Linked DNA regions of Homo sapiens: region 2 is linked to region 1. The links are contacts of gene promoters, found by promoter capture Hi-C in blood cells and fetal thymus (Javierre and others, 2016). All regions are on one chromosome and are shown on one strand. The core of a region is centred on a gene start or on the middle of the fragment in contact, and the rest is flanking DNA. Distances in the headings are between cores, read along the strand shown.

The links. The method cuts DNA at HindIII sites, captures the fragments that hold promoters and counts their contacts. A CHiCAGO score of 5 or more calls a contact.
Region 2: a contact is called between a fragment that was not itself captured here and the fragment with the promoter of MAZ in region 1, in 2 of 17 cell types (total CD8 T cells and M0 macrophages). The highest score is 5.9, in total CD8 T cells.

Annotation. Positions count from the first base shown.
Region 1 is chr16:29,803,483-29,810,583 of GRCh38, forward strand. It overlaps MAZ (MYC associated zinc finger protein), which reads left to right and starts at 3,047. Exons shown (of 5, transcript NM_002383.4): 1 at 3,047-3,411; 2 at 3,496-4,346; 3 at 4,748-4,811; 4 at 5,088-5,259; 5 at 6,595-7,101. The coding sequence starts at 3,220. The coding sequence ends at 6,749. It overlaps KIF22 (kinesin family member 22), which reads left to right. Exons shown (of 14, transcript NM_007317.3): 10 at 1-126; 11 at 516-583; 12 at 1,332-1,544; 13 at 1,633-1,692; 14 at 1,781-1,902. The coding sequence ends at 1,828. MVP-DT (MVP divergent transcript) reads right to left here. Exons shown (of 4, transcript NR_186424.1): 3 at 6,553-6,691; 4 at 5,162-5,651. RefSeq lists silencers at 1,548-1,597, 2,338-2,677, 2,808-2,947, 3,848-4,517 and enhancers at 1,978-2,027, 4,598-4,837. The HindIII fragment of the contact is 3,714 bases long and covers 839-4,552 here.
Region 2 is chr16:29,714,880-29,721,319 of GRCh38, forward strand. No RefSeq gene overlaps it. Among named protein-coding and RNA genes, the nearest start is that of C16orf54, 28 kb to the right of the region's middle. RefSeq lists an enhancer at 5,575-6,077. The HindIII fragment of the contact is 670 bases long and covers 2,120-2,789 here.

The DNA.
Region 1 (7,101 bases), core at 1,797-4,296:
AGATGTTGGCCCAGAAGGCTGAGGAAAAGGAGAACCATTGTCCCACAATGCTCCGGCCCCTTTCACATCGCACAGTCACAGGGGCAAAGCCCCTGAAAAAGGCTGTGGTGATGCCCCTACAGCTAAGTAAGTTTGACTCCAGGGGCTGGGGGGCCAAGGCAGCTGAGATCCTATAAGGGAGGAAGTGTTAGGAGCAGCTGTCTCCATGTCATTCATATTCTCCCACCACATACCAGTCCCAGGGAGGGGTGAGGAGGCTCTGAGGCAGTGCTGGGGGTGCTCTGCCCTCGGGTGTTTAGGACAGTGGGATGGACAAACGAGTAGAGGATTGAAGATAATGCAAGACTGACTGAAATTCCTTTAAATGCGGGTATAAAAAAGGTCATGTGGAAACACAACAGGTTAACTCTGGATGGAGGGGAGCTGGGGAATCAGAAATGGAAGAATCGAAGGGCTACCAGGGAGGGTGAAAAGTACCCTTTGCCCTGACTCCAATTCTCGATTCCTACTTTCAGTTCAGGAGCAGGCAGCATCCCCAAATGCCGAGATCCACATCCTGAAGAATAAAGGCCGGAAGAGAAAGGTGAAAGTAGCTGGGGGCTTAGGCTACACCTGGAGCCCAGAAGTAAGGGGGAGTAGGCTCTAGGGGGAGGAGCGTTGGCCTTGGGGTTAAACGAACTGGATGATGGCCGCCAGCTACTAACAGACCTCAACTTGCTTACCCCTGGAATGTGGTGATGGATGGTTCCTTGCAGGGCATTTAGGGTGGAAGGCAGTGATGTGGATGTACCTCGCAGAGCGGATGTTCCACTGTGTAGCCTGGCTTCTACCCTCTACAAGCTTAAGAGGGAAAACTTAGGGAACTATGACCTAAGCAGTCAAGCAAGAAACCACACATATGCACATACCCAGAATCGAACACCACTAGAACTACCCAAAAACTGAGATGGTTGGGGGAGGTATCATTTATTCATATTACTTTCTCCCATGTACTTTTTGAAAGACAGCTTATTCTTTCCCTTTTAGAGATGAGGGACCAGATTTAAGAGCTTATTTTGTGCTTTACATTCATTAACTCACTTGATCTCCACAGCAACTCCATGAGAAGGGTGCTAATATTACCACTGGGTACTGAGTAGTACCTCTCTTTCACTAGTTGCATAATAAGAATTAACCCAGAGAGTGACCTGAGGGCGGGATTTTGGACACACTTGACAAGAGAGGAAGAGGCTGGAGCGCAGGAGGTAGCTGGTGCTGGGCTCCTAGTCTTGGCAGAGGAGCCCAAAGCACTTGGCTGCCCTGCGTGTCACTCATCTCCCTTTGCCTCCCAGCTGGAGTCCCTGGATGCCCTAGAGCCTGAGGAGAAGGCTGAGGACTGCTGGGAGCTACAGATCAGCCCGGAGCTACTGGCTCATGGGCGCCAAAAAATACTGGATCTGCTGAACGAAGGCTCAGCCCGAGATCTCCGCAGTCTTCAGCGCATTGGCCCGAAGAAGGCCCAGCTAATCGTGGGCTGGCGGGAGCTCCACGGCCCCTTCAGCCAGGTAGCAGCCCACTGGACTGGGGGAGGGCGGGGGCGGGGGAGACCGGGTACCCCCGAGACCCTGTCCCCTATCGATCCTGTCCCGCCAGGTGGAGGACCTGGAACGCGTGGAGGGCATAACGGGGAAACAGATGGAGTCCTTCCTGAAGGTGAAGTCACGGCCCTGCCCCTCCTCTGCCTGTCCTGCGCCCCGCGCCCCTCTCTAACGTCGCTGTCTCCCTCCCTCCTGTGTTGCAGGCAAACATCCTGGGTCTCGCCGCCGGCCAGCGCTGTGGCGCCTCCTGACCGTCGTCTCCTCACTCCGCCTTTTCAAATTTTTGTATAACCCCGTGTTGTGTAAATACAGTTTTTGCTCCGGTGCTTCCGCCTGATTTTTGGGGCTGCGGGGGCGGGACCGGGGTGTGACCGCCTCGGGGTGGGCCGCGAGCAAGGCAGGCGACTCCACTGGGCGCCATCTTCGGGGAACGACTCAGCGCAGGATTGTAAATACACCGCTGGGGTGGGGCGGGGAGGACGGTGGCCTGCAGGACGCAAAAAGCGGAAGCCGAAGCATGAGGCCTGCGACCGTTAGGCGGGCGCGCGCTCAGGGATTAGCCCCGCCCCGTCCGTGCCCCCGGCGCGCGCGCTCCCCCATTCTCCCGCTCGGCAACGACGGCGGCCTTGTGCGCGTGCGCGCGAAATAACGGCCGCTGGCGGAGGGAGGGGGAGTGGAATCGTTGGCGGGGGGAAGAGGAGAGAAGCCGCCCTGTCTCCCGCGCGCCCACCACCTGCGCCATCGTCAGCCAATCAGCAGCCGTCTCAGGGGTCTCGCGCTCGGGGCGACTCGGGCTGCTGGGTGGCTCCCCCGTCCCTCCTCCCGCCAGAGTCCCTCTCGCGCCTGCCCCTCCCGCTGGCCACGCGCGCGCTCGCGCTAGCGCTCGCGCCCGCTCCAGCCTCTTGTGTGTCCTCGCGCCCCCCGCCCGCCCTCCCCGCGCGTAGTGTGCTCCGCTTCCCCCACCCTCCACCTCCCCCCTCCTGCCCGCCCCGCGCGCCTCCTCCCGGGTTCCCCCTCCCCCACCGCCGCCGCCTCCTCCTCCCGCCCCAGGGTGAGCGCGAGCCACCTCCCTCCCTCCCTCCGCCATGGATCCCAGCAACTGGAGCAGCTTCATCTTCCAGGTAACAACTCCCTCCCCCCGCCCCCACCCCCCTGCCCACACCCCCTCCTGCCCGCCCTCCCTCCCGTCCCACCCCCCCTCCGCGCGCCCGGTGCGCGCGCAGCTGTCCCCCTCCCTCCCTCGCGCCCTCCCCCGCCCTCCCCGAGGCGCCGGCTGGGCGCGCGCGCGGCGGGGGCCGAGGCTGCTCCCTCGCTCCCCCCACCCCGCCCCGCCAGGCTCCAACCGCCGCCGCCGCCGCCGCCGCCGCCCGGGCCCCCGCCCCCGGCCCCGGCCCCGCGGGGCCTCCCGCCCCCACCCAGGGGGCGTCGCCGCCGCCGTCGCCGCGGCGCTCCGCGGCCCGCAAGGCGCCCTCTTTTCCTCCCTCCCGCCGGCCGGGGTGCGCGGGCGGCGGGGCGGCCCGCGGGCCATGCGTTCGGCGCGGCCCAGCCCGGCCGGCCGGGGGCGGCGCCCCGAGCCCGGGCCCCGCGCGGCCCGCGCCCCCGGCCCCCGCTGAGCCCCGGGGGCCCCGCTGCGGCCGAGGCCATGTTCCCGGTGTTTCCTTGCACGCTGCTGGCCCCCCCCTTCCCCGTGCTGGGCCTGGACTCCCGGGGGGTGGGCGGCCTCATGAACTCCTTCCCGCCACCTCAGGGTCACGCCCAGAACCCCCTGCAGGTCGGGGCTGAGCTCCAGTCCCGCTTCTTTGCCTCCCAGGGCTGCGCCCAGAGTCCATTCCAGGTGAGTAGGGCCGGCCGCGGCGGCCCGGGCTGGGGGGGGACGCCCGCCCGCACCCGCGGCCCACTCGGCGCCTTGTCTCCGCAGGCCGCGCCGGCGCCCCCGCCCACGCCCCAGGCCCCGGCGGCCGAGCCCCTCCAGGTGGACTTGCTCCCGGTGCTCGCCGCCGCCCAGGAGTCCGCCGCGGCTGCTGCGGCCGCTGCCGCCGCTGCTGCCGCCGTCGCTGCCGCGCCCCCGGCCCCTGCCGCCGCCTCTACGGTGGACACAGCGGCCCTGAAGCAGCCTCCGGCGCCCCCTCCGCCACCCCCGCCAGTGTCGGCGCCCGCGGCCGAGGCCGCGCCCCCCGCCTCCGCCGCCACTATCGCCGCGGCGGCGGCCACCGCCGTCGTAGCCCCAACCTCGACGGTCGCCGTGGCCCCGGTCGCGTCTGCCTTGGAGAAGAAGACAAAGAGCAAGGGGCCCTACATCTGCGCTCTGTGCGCCAAGGAGTTCAAGAACGGCTACAATCTCCGGAGGCACGAAGCCATCCACACGGGAGCCAAGGCCGGCCGGGTCCCCTCGGGTGCTATGAAGATGCCGACCATGGTGCCCCTGAGCCTCCTGAGCGTGCCCCAGCTGAGCGGAGCCGGCGGGGGAGGGGGAGAGGCGGGTGCCGGCGGCGGCGCTGCCGCAGTGGCCGCCGGTGGCGTGGTGACCACGACCGCCTCGGGGAAGCGCATCCGGAAGAACCATGCCTGCGAGATGTGTGGCAAGGCCTTCCGCGACGTCTACCACCTGAACCGACACAAGCTGTCGCACTCGGACGAGAAGCCCTACCAGTGCCCGGTGTGCCAGCAGCGCTTCAAGCGCAAGGACCGCATGAGCTACCACGTGCGCTCACATGACGGCGCTGTGCACAAGCCCTACAACTGCTCCCACTGTGGCAAGAGCTTCTCCCGGTGTGCACGGGGCCTCGGCCGCCCGCTAGGCCGTGGGGAGGGAGGGACGCGACGGAGGTGGCCTGGCCGTGGCTGGCGGGGAGGGAGGCGGCTGCTGAGGCTGGGGAAGGGGAGCCACTCCCAGGGCGGAGGGAGGAAGCCTCTCCCGGTTACCAGGGAGCAAGGGGTGGTCCTTTGTCGAGGAGGTGGGCCTTGGGGTTGACGGAAGCTTCGCGTGGGAGGAGGCGGCGGCGGCGGCAGCGGCTGCTGGGCTCCAGGGGAGGGATTTCCTGCTTAAGTGTCGCTGTGACGGCCTGGGCTCCGGGAGGAGGCGCAGGGATCCTCGGAAAGGCCTGTGGTGCGGTTTGGTGGATTTGGGGCGCACCACCTCCGCCCTAACCCCAACCCCAACGTGTCCCCAGGCCGGATCACCTCAACAGTCACGTCAGACAAGTGCACTCAACAGAACGGCCCTTCAAATGTGAGGTAGGAAGCCCGCCTCCTCCTGTCTTGGTTTTCATGATTTTGATCCTCATGGTAGCTGTCTGAGTCAGTCTCTCAGACCCCCTTTTTCTCTCTCTTCTTTTTGCCTTTTTGCTCCATTTTCTCATCCCTTCTTCAAGGCCTCATCATGTCACTCCCATTTCCTACAGATCAAAGATCCCCAAGGCTCTGATTCCTTTAATCTCTTGCTCCCCCCTCCCCAGCCCACCAAGCTTTAACTCTCCTGTGACACCCCCCACGCCCCTCCCCCCTCCTCAGAAATGTGAGGCAGCTTTCGCCACGAAGGATCGGCTGCGGGCGCACACAGTACGACACGAGGAGAAAGTGCCATGTCACGTGTGTGGCAAGATGCTGAGCTCGGCTTATATTTCGGACCACATGAAGGTGCACAGCCAGGGTCCTCACCATGTCTGTGAGCTCTGCAACAAAGGTACATGCCGAGGGCTGCCGGGAGGGCCAGGGGCAGAGGGTGGGCGCCTGGCCAGACGCCTTGCCACGGATACGGGTTAAGGGTGCTGTAGCCAAGAGCTCGTGGCGTCTAGATTCCTACAAGAGGTCAAGGGAGCAGCGGGGGGACACCTGAATGAACATCATTAGACTCTAAGAAGTCCTGGTTGGAAGAGATGATCTGCCAGAGAGGTTGAACCTCCTGGTAATGTGTGGGGAAAGCGGGAGTGGAACTTGGCTGCTCTGGGGAAGGAGTAGTCAAGAAAGCCAGTTCCAGGGGTCACAAGGCAAGGTTTCCGCTGCGCAGCCACAAGGTCTTGTCTCCAGCTCCTGGGGCAGGTGGAGTACACGGGCCGGGCTTTACCAGCACGCACCCTGCACGGGTAGCAGAGAAAGCTGCCTTCAGTCAGACTCACCGGTTAACTGGGTTGAGACCGCGGGGCACTGGAGGGAAGGGGACACAGCCGTCTCTGCTGAGGGTCAACCCTGCAAGTGGCTAGGAGTCAGTGTCTCGTCATCCTGGGAGAGGTCTCCCGGCCATGGAGAATGAGTTCTGTAGGTACCAAGGCTGAGAAGCGGGCACCACACAAGCCAGGCCCCAGGCTCAGGGAGGGGCTGTGTCTACCAGCCCCAACAGAGCAGTTGGCCCCAGGCTACCAAGGATACCGTGGGAGGAGGACAGGGCCATCTGAGGAGGGCATCCCCCGCCTAGGAGATCAGCCCCGTCTCTGGGGTCTCCGCCTGGCTGACCCCCGCCCCATCCCAATCCACCCCCCAATAGGCTTCACCACGGCAGCATACCTGCGCATCCACGCGGTGAAGGACCACGGGCTCCAGGCCCCGCGGGCTGACCGCATCCTGTGCAAGCTGTGCAGCGTGCACTGCAAGACCCCTGCCCAGCTGGCCGGCCACATGCAGACCCATCTGGGGGGGGCCGCCCCCCCTGTCCCGGGAGACGCCCCCCAGCCACAGCCCACCTGCTGAGGGGGACCCCCGCACCCACCAGGCAAGGCGTGGGGCATGGCTGGGGGGCGGGATGGGGGGTGTGGGGGACAACGGGGCTCAAAGGGCCCAATAGGGGATCTCAGGAAGGCGAGGGATGCCCATGTACCACTCAGGCTAGGGAGACTTCTGGGCACAGGGAGGATCCTTGAGAACTGCTCTGTCTGGGTGAGGATGCAGGCTGAGGCCTCTGGGGTCCAGATAGGAAGTGAGCAACGGCTGTGTCCCAGGGGAAGCAGGCTGGGAAGGTGTGGGGTGAGGGCAAGGCTCTTGCCATTCAGATCGCGCTGTGATCCGTGGTGTTTCTCCTGTGCAGGTACTGGTGAGGTTTGTCCAATGGCGGCGGCAGCGGCAGCGGCGGCAGCGGCAGCAGCGGCAGCAGTAGCAGCCCCTCCCACAGCTGTGGGCTCCCTCTCGGGGGCGGAGGGGGTGCCTGTGAGCTCTCAGCCACTTCCCTCCCAACCCTGGTGAGCTCCAAGTTGGTTGCGGGGGAGAGGGGAGAATGGAGTAGAGTCCCTTGGTACAAGCTCCTCTCCCCCCTCTTTTCCCACCAACTCCTATTTCCCTACCAACCAAGGAGCCTCCAGAAGGAAAGGAGGAAGAAATGTTTTCTTAGGGGAATTCGCTAGGTTTTAACGATTTGTTTCTCCTGCTCCTCTTCTGTCAGACCTGACCCCACACAAACCTGTCCCCTCGGTTGTGTTGAAGTCCCCTGGACAGTGGGCAGGGGTGGCAGAGGACACGAGCAGCCACTGCCCGTACCCCCTCTCCTCTCTGTAAGCCCATGCCCTGTCTTCCCAGGGACTTGTGAGCCTCTTCCCTC
Region 2 (6,440 bases), core at 1,205-3,704, 89 kb before region 1:
AAAAGGCTCTTCTCAGTCAACTGAATTATTTTTCTCCATTTTTGTCTTAACCACTCTTAATGCATGCATGAGAGTCCCTAAGACAACTTCTGACAGCATGGAACTCCTTGGGAAAAACAGAGGAGGTGCCACAAACCCTGTTTTGGAAAAAAAACCTGTTTTCCTCATGAAACCCCCAAAATTAAAAGCTGATAGTTCCCTCTCAAAACCAAAGGCTCTGTTCTGTTATGTATTGTGTTATCTACCGTTTTGAGTTTTGGGGGTATCAAATTACTTCACATTATAAAAGAGCTTTGATGTGTAATAACTAGGTAGAAAATACACTGTAAAGGATGCCTAATAGTAGTTATAAATCAAAAAAGCATGCTCTTGGGCACCTAAAAAACATCCCCACCCCCCACAAAGAGATGAGACTACCATGCAGAATGGGCTAATTGCCAAAATAAGCCAATTGGCTTTGGGTTGCCTTGCAATGAAATGCATGGTAGAAACACTACACTGTCTTCTCTCATAGTATCTATATGGTCTTTTCATAAATTGAGCATTGAAATAAAAGCATAGCAAGGAGTTCCTAAAACACTAATCTGTCCTTTGGTAAAAAGGTTATAAAAGATTTGTAAAGATTTAACTGTAACTGTCCTGGAAATTTTGTCATTCGCAAACAATTGTTGTCTTGCTTCGTTCCTTCTCAGAAAATGGTTTATAATCAAGCTATATTAAGGACTTTAACAGGTGTTCTCAAATGCAGGTTTTTAATAGCTTTGAAGATTGTAACATTGGAATAAAAAAGTACAGGACTCATAAAGAATGGACATATTCACAAATATCAAGCAAAACAAAAGTTAACTAAATGGACTGCACTCAAAAAGTTAAAGCAGCTTTTTTTTTTTTTTTTGTGATAGAGTCTCACTCTGTCACCCAGGCTGGAGTGCAATGGTGCAATCTTGGCTCACTGCAACCTCCGCCTCCCTGGTTCAAGGGATTCTCCTGCCTCAGCCTGGGATTACAGGCGCCCACCACTGCGCTTGACAAATTTTTGTATTTTTAGTAGAGACAGGGTCTCAAACTCCTGACCTCATGATCCACACGCCTCAGCCTCCCAAAGTGCTGGGATTACAGGTGTGAGCTGCCGCACCTGGCCAAAGCAACCTTTTTAACTTTTGCTTGGAATATTGCAAATACGCATGAGAGTCCCTAAGATAACTTAAGGATCCTTGTTTTGTCTTTCAGAGTCAAGAAAACTTATTTTGAACTATTTACAGCCTTTAATAATTAAGTAAGGTGCCGGGCACCGTGGCTCATGCCTGCAAACCCAGTACTTTAGGAGGCTAAGGAGGGTGGATCACCTGAGGTTGGGAGTTTAAGACCAGCCTGACCAACTTGGAGAAACCCCATCTCTACTAAAAATACAAAATTAGCTGGGTGTGGTGGTGCATGCCTGTAATCCCAGATACTCGGGAAGCTAAGGCAGGAGAATTGCTTGAACCCAGGAGGTGGAGGTTGCAGAGCCAAGATCACACCATTGCACTCCAGCCTGGCAACAAGAGCGAAACTCTGTCTCAAAATAAAATAAAATAAATAATTGCGTAAGGTATATGCCTGTGAACAAAATTTGGAGCATGTTTGTTTTTCTCTGCCTGGTTCCTCTAGAACGTGGAGACTATCTGTGAGTACTCTTAACTTATGGCAGTAAGGTTGTTTGCATCAGTGCAATAAGAGTCAATTTTCTGGCCGGGTGCCGTGGCTCACGCCTGTAATCCTAGCACTTTGGGAGGCCGAGGTGGGCAGATCACAAGGTCAGGAGATCGAGACCATCCTGGTTAACACGGTGAAACCCCGTCTCTACTAAAAATACAAAAAAATTAGCCAGGTGTGGTGGCGGTGCCTGTAGTCCCAGCTACTCAGGAGGCTGAGGCAGGAGAATGGCGTGAACCCGGGAGGCGGAGCTTGCAGTGAGCCGAGATCGTGCCACTGCACTCCAGCCTAGGCAACAGAGCAAGACTCCGTCTCAAAAAAAAAAAAAAAAGAGTCAATTTTCTTTGTCAACAGGACACAGTTGGAAAAACTGGTTATTTTACCAAGGTTTCACTGAAAGGGTGTGTTTCCCTTTAAGGAATCAAGCTTGACATGCAGACCCAATAAAAACCCCTTGGAGAGAACTGGCCTCATAGTTAGTCTACACAGTCCCCACACAGGGTTCCTAACCTATGGTCAGTAAAGAGTGTCACTTTCTAACAGGCCTGGGAGCTCCAAGTTTATCTTGGAACCTTAAGAGGAGAGGATCACCCAACTCACAGGTATTTGAGGATACAAACCCATAGTTGGGCTCGGCTTTAAAGGTCTTATCTGAAATTCCTTGTGCAACAAAGTTTCATCAAAGCCAATTCAAAAGGCCTGTGTAGAAATAACCATTCCTGGCCGGGCACGGTGGCTCATGCCTGTAATCGCAGCACTTTGGGAAGCCAAGCTGGGCAGGTGGATCACCTGAGGTTGGGAGTTCGAGACCAGCCTGACCAATATGGAGAAATCCTGGACTCTTCTAAAAATACAAAATTAGCTGAGCGTGGCAGTGCATGTCTGTGACCCCAGCTACTCGGGAGGCTGAGGCAAGAGAACAGCTTGAACCTGGGAGGCAGAGGTTGCGGTGAGCCAAGATTGCCCTGTTGCACTCCAGCCTGGGCAAATCATCAGGCCAAGTATAAAACTAAAGTTTATTCTACAAACAACACACATGGTCCTATCATAATTTGTTTTTACCAAAAATGAGACCTGGAGAAATTGTGTCCCAAAGCTTATCATACATTTGTCATTAAATCCTAGTCTCATTAATTGTTTTTAAGCTTTTTGCCTACATTTTAGACTAACCCTGTTTATTCCTGTAAATCAAGTGGTGATCTGCAGCTTGGAAGAAAAAAAAAGGAATGGAGAATGTAAAAATCTGAATCAATATACTGGTTCTGGGCAATTATCCTATAAATTCTGCCAGGTAATAAAAGTGAGTAGGGGCCAGGCGCGGTGGCTCACCCCTGTAATCCCAGCACTTTGGGAGGCCGAGGTGGGTGGATGACCTGAGGTAGGAGTTTCAGACCAGCCTGGGCAACATGGTGAAACCCCATCTCTACTAAACATACAAAAAAATTATCTGGGCATGGTGGTGTGTGCCTATAATCCCAGCTACTAGGAAGGCTGAGGCAGGAGGATAGCTTAAACACAGGAGGTGGAGGTTGCAGTGAGCCGAGATCGCGCTATTGCCCTCCAGCCTGGGTGAGAAGGCGAGACTCCGTCTTTAAAAAAAAAAAAAAAGAAAAGCAGGGCGCGGTGGCTCACGCCTGTAATCCCAGCACTTTGGGAGGCCAAGGCGGGTGGATCACGAGGTCAGGAGATCGAGACCATCCTGGCTAACATGGTGAAACCCTGTCTCTACTAAAAATACAAAAAAATTAGCTGGGCGTGGTGGCGGGCACCTGTAGTCCCAGCTACTTGGGAGGCTGAGGCAGGAGAATGGCGTGAACCCAGGAGGTGGAGCTTGCAGTGAGCTGAGATCGCGCCACGGCACTCCAGCCTGGGCGAAAGAGCAAGACTCCGTCTCAAAAAAAAAAAAAAGTGAGTAGGGTGCCCATAGCTTGGAGATTTCTTTGTTTGGGAAAATAAAACAAAAGAACTTCATAAACCCCCAAAGGGAAATTCTATATCTTGGCAAGTAAAATTTTAAGTGGAAATTATCTACTACACCACACTTGTGGGAATTGCTGTACTCACCCCACTATTTTCAATAGGGTTATACACGGTAGCACCTTAAAGCTGAAATATTGGACAGAGTTTCCATTGCCGTAGTATTCTGCTTATTATCCTTATAGCAGGGATAGTAGTTACTAACGAAAAGGAAGCATAAAAGTTACTATCACCGAATCTGCCAGGACTTTTTACTGGGTTTAGTGATGCACTTTTAAATGAAACATGCTGCTTCTGGATTAAAACCTCTACTAAAGTAGAGGAAAATCTACAGGTACTTAAAGATGAAATCAAAATCATTGACAGGCTCAGAGAAAATGCCGGCTTCAGCCCCGGGTGGCTACAATCCCTCTTTAATGAATTCCTGTCTTCTTTATGGAATTGGTTAACCCCTTTATTAAGCCCTGTCTTGTTTATATGTCTTGTATAAATATTTGGACCCTGTATACTCAATACTGTAACTCAAATTGTTTCCTCTTGCTTAGAAGCCATCTAACTCCAAATGGTGCAAACTGAACAACCCAAGGACATGCCCCCACATGTGCCTGGCAACGTGGCTGCCCCCACATATCCCCACCTGTGTAAAACATCATTGCACCCTGCATTTGCATATTAAAAGGCTAGGGTGGGAGGGCCAGTTTTTTCAAAGGCTACACGAATAAAATGCCTGGTCAAACCAGTTCCCTGAGCCCTATGCAAATCAGACACCGCCTCCTCCAGCCTACTCATAACTGGCTGGTATCCCCCGCACTTGTGGTCTCCTCTGTTGGCTTTGGAGCCCCTCTCCCTCTGTCTCTGTACAGGGGAGCTTCTTCCTTCTTTCTGCTCCCTTTTTTCTTGCCTATTAAACTCTCCACTCCTTAAAACCACTCCATGTGTGTCCATGTGGCTTTATCCAATTCCCACGGAACAGGAGCCCTGGTGTTCCTCCACTCATAGAAGCTTTATTACTTATATATATATTCTATATATCCATCATGCATCCTACAAAGTGAAAGCAACTTTTTTTTTTTGAGATGGAGTCTCACTATGTAACCCAGGCTGGAGTGCAATGGCACAATCTCGGCTCACTGCAACCTCTGCCTCCTAGGTTCAAGTGATTCTCCCACCTCAGCCTCCCGAGTAGCTGGGACTACAGGCGCATGCAACCACAGCCAGCTAAATTTTGTATTTTTAGTAGAGATGGGGTTTCACCATGTTGGCCAGGCTGGTCTCGAACTCCCGACCTCGTGATCCACCCACCTCGGCCTCCCAAAGTGCTGGGATTACAGGTGTGAGCCACAAAGCCCGGCCAAAGTAACTTATTAATTCTGATAATTTTTCCCTCCCTCCCTCCCTCCCTCACTTTCTTCCTTCCTTCCTTCGTTTTGTTTTGGTTTTTGAGATGGAGTCTTGCTCTATCGCCCAGGCTGGAGTGCAGTGGCATGATCTCGGCTCACTCAACCTCTTCCTCCCAGGTGCAAGCGATTCTCCTGCCTCAGCCACCTGAGTAGACGGGATTACAGGCGTGTGCCACCACACTCGTTTTTGTTTGTTTGTTTGTTTGTTTGTTTGTTTTTTGAGACAGAGTCTCGCTCTGTCTCCCCAGCTGGAGTGCAGTGGCACAATCTAGGCTCACTGCCAGCTCCACCTCCCGGGTTCAAATCATTCTCATGCCTCAGCCTCCCCAGTAGCTGGGACTACAGGTGCCCACCACCATGCCCGGCTAATGTTTTGTATTTTTAGTAGAGACAGGATTTCACTGTGTTAGCTAGGATGGTCTCGATCTCCTGACCTCGTGATCCACCCGCCTCGGCCTCCCAAAGTGTTGGAATTACAGGCGTGAGTCACTGCGCCCAGCCTACACACACTTTTTTTTTTTTTTTAATTAGCTGGGCCTGGCTGAGCACGGTGGCTCATGCCTGTAATCCCAGCACTTTGGGAGGCCAAGGCGGGCGGATCAACTGAGGTTGGGAGTTCAAGACCAGACTGACTAACATGGAGAAACCCCGTCTCTGAAAATACAAAATTAGCCGGGCATGGTGGCGCATGCCTGTAATCCCAGCTACTCCAGAGGCTGAGGCAGGAGAATGGCTTGAACCTGGGAGGCGGAGGTTGCTGTGAGCTGAGATGGCGCCATTGCACTCCAGCCTGGGCAACAAAAGTGAAACTCTGTCTCAAAAAAAAAAAAAAAAAAATTAGCTGTGCCTGTAGTCCTAGCTACTGTGGAGGCTGAAGCAGGAGGACTGGTTGAGCCCAGTTCAAGGACGCAGTGAGCTATGATTGCACCACTGTACTCCAGTCTGGGCAACAGAGTGAGATGTTATCTAAAAAAACAGAGTACAATTCAGTGGTTTTTAGTATATTCACAAAGTTGTGCAATCTATGCCACTATCCAGACATTTTAATCAACCCAAAACGAAACTCTATGCCGAATAGTCACTGCCCATTCCCCTCTCTTCCCTAGCCCTGCCAACCACTAATCTGTAGGGACCAGCCCCACAGGGTCGGTGGGTCTCTCCCTGTGTGCGGCGACGAGAGAGTGTAGAAATAAAGACACAGACAAAGAGATAAGAGAAAAGGCAGCTGGGCCCGGGGGGACCACTACCACCAATGCCCGGAGACCGGTAGTGGCCCCGAATGTCTGGCTGCGCTGTTATTTATTGGATACAAGGCAGAAGGGGCAGGGTAAAGAATGTGAGTCACCTCCAATGATAGGTAAGGTCACG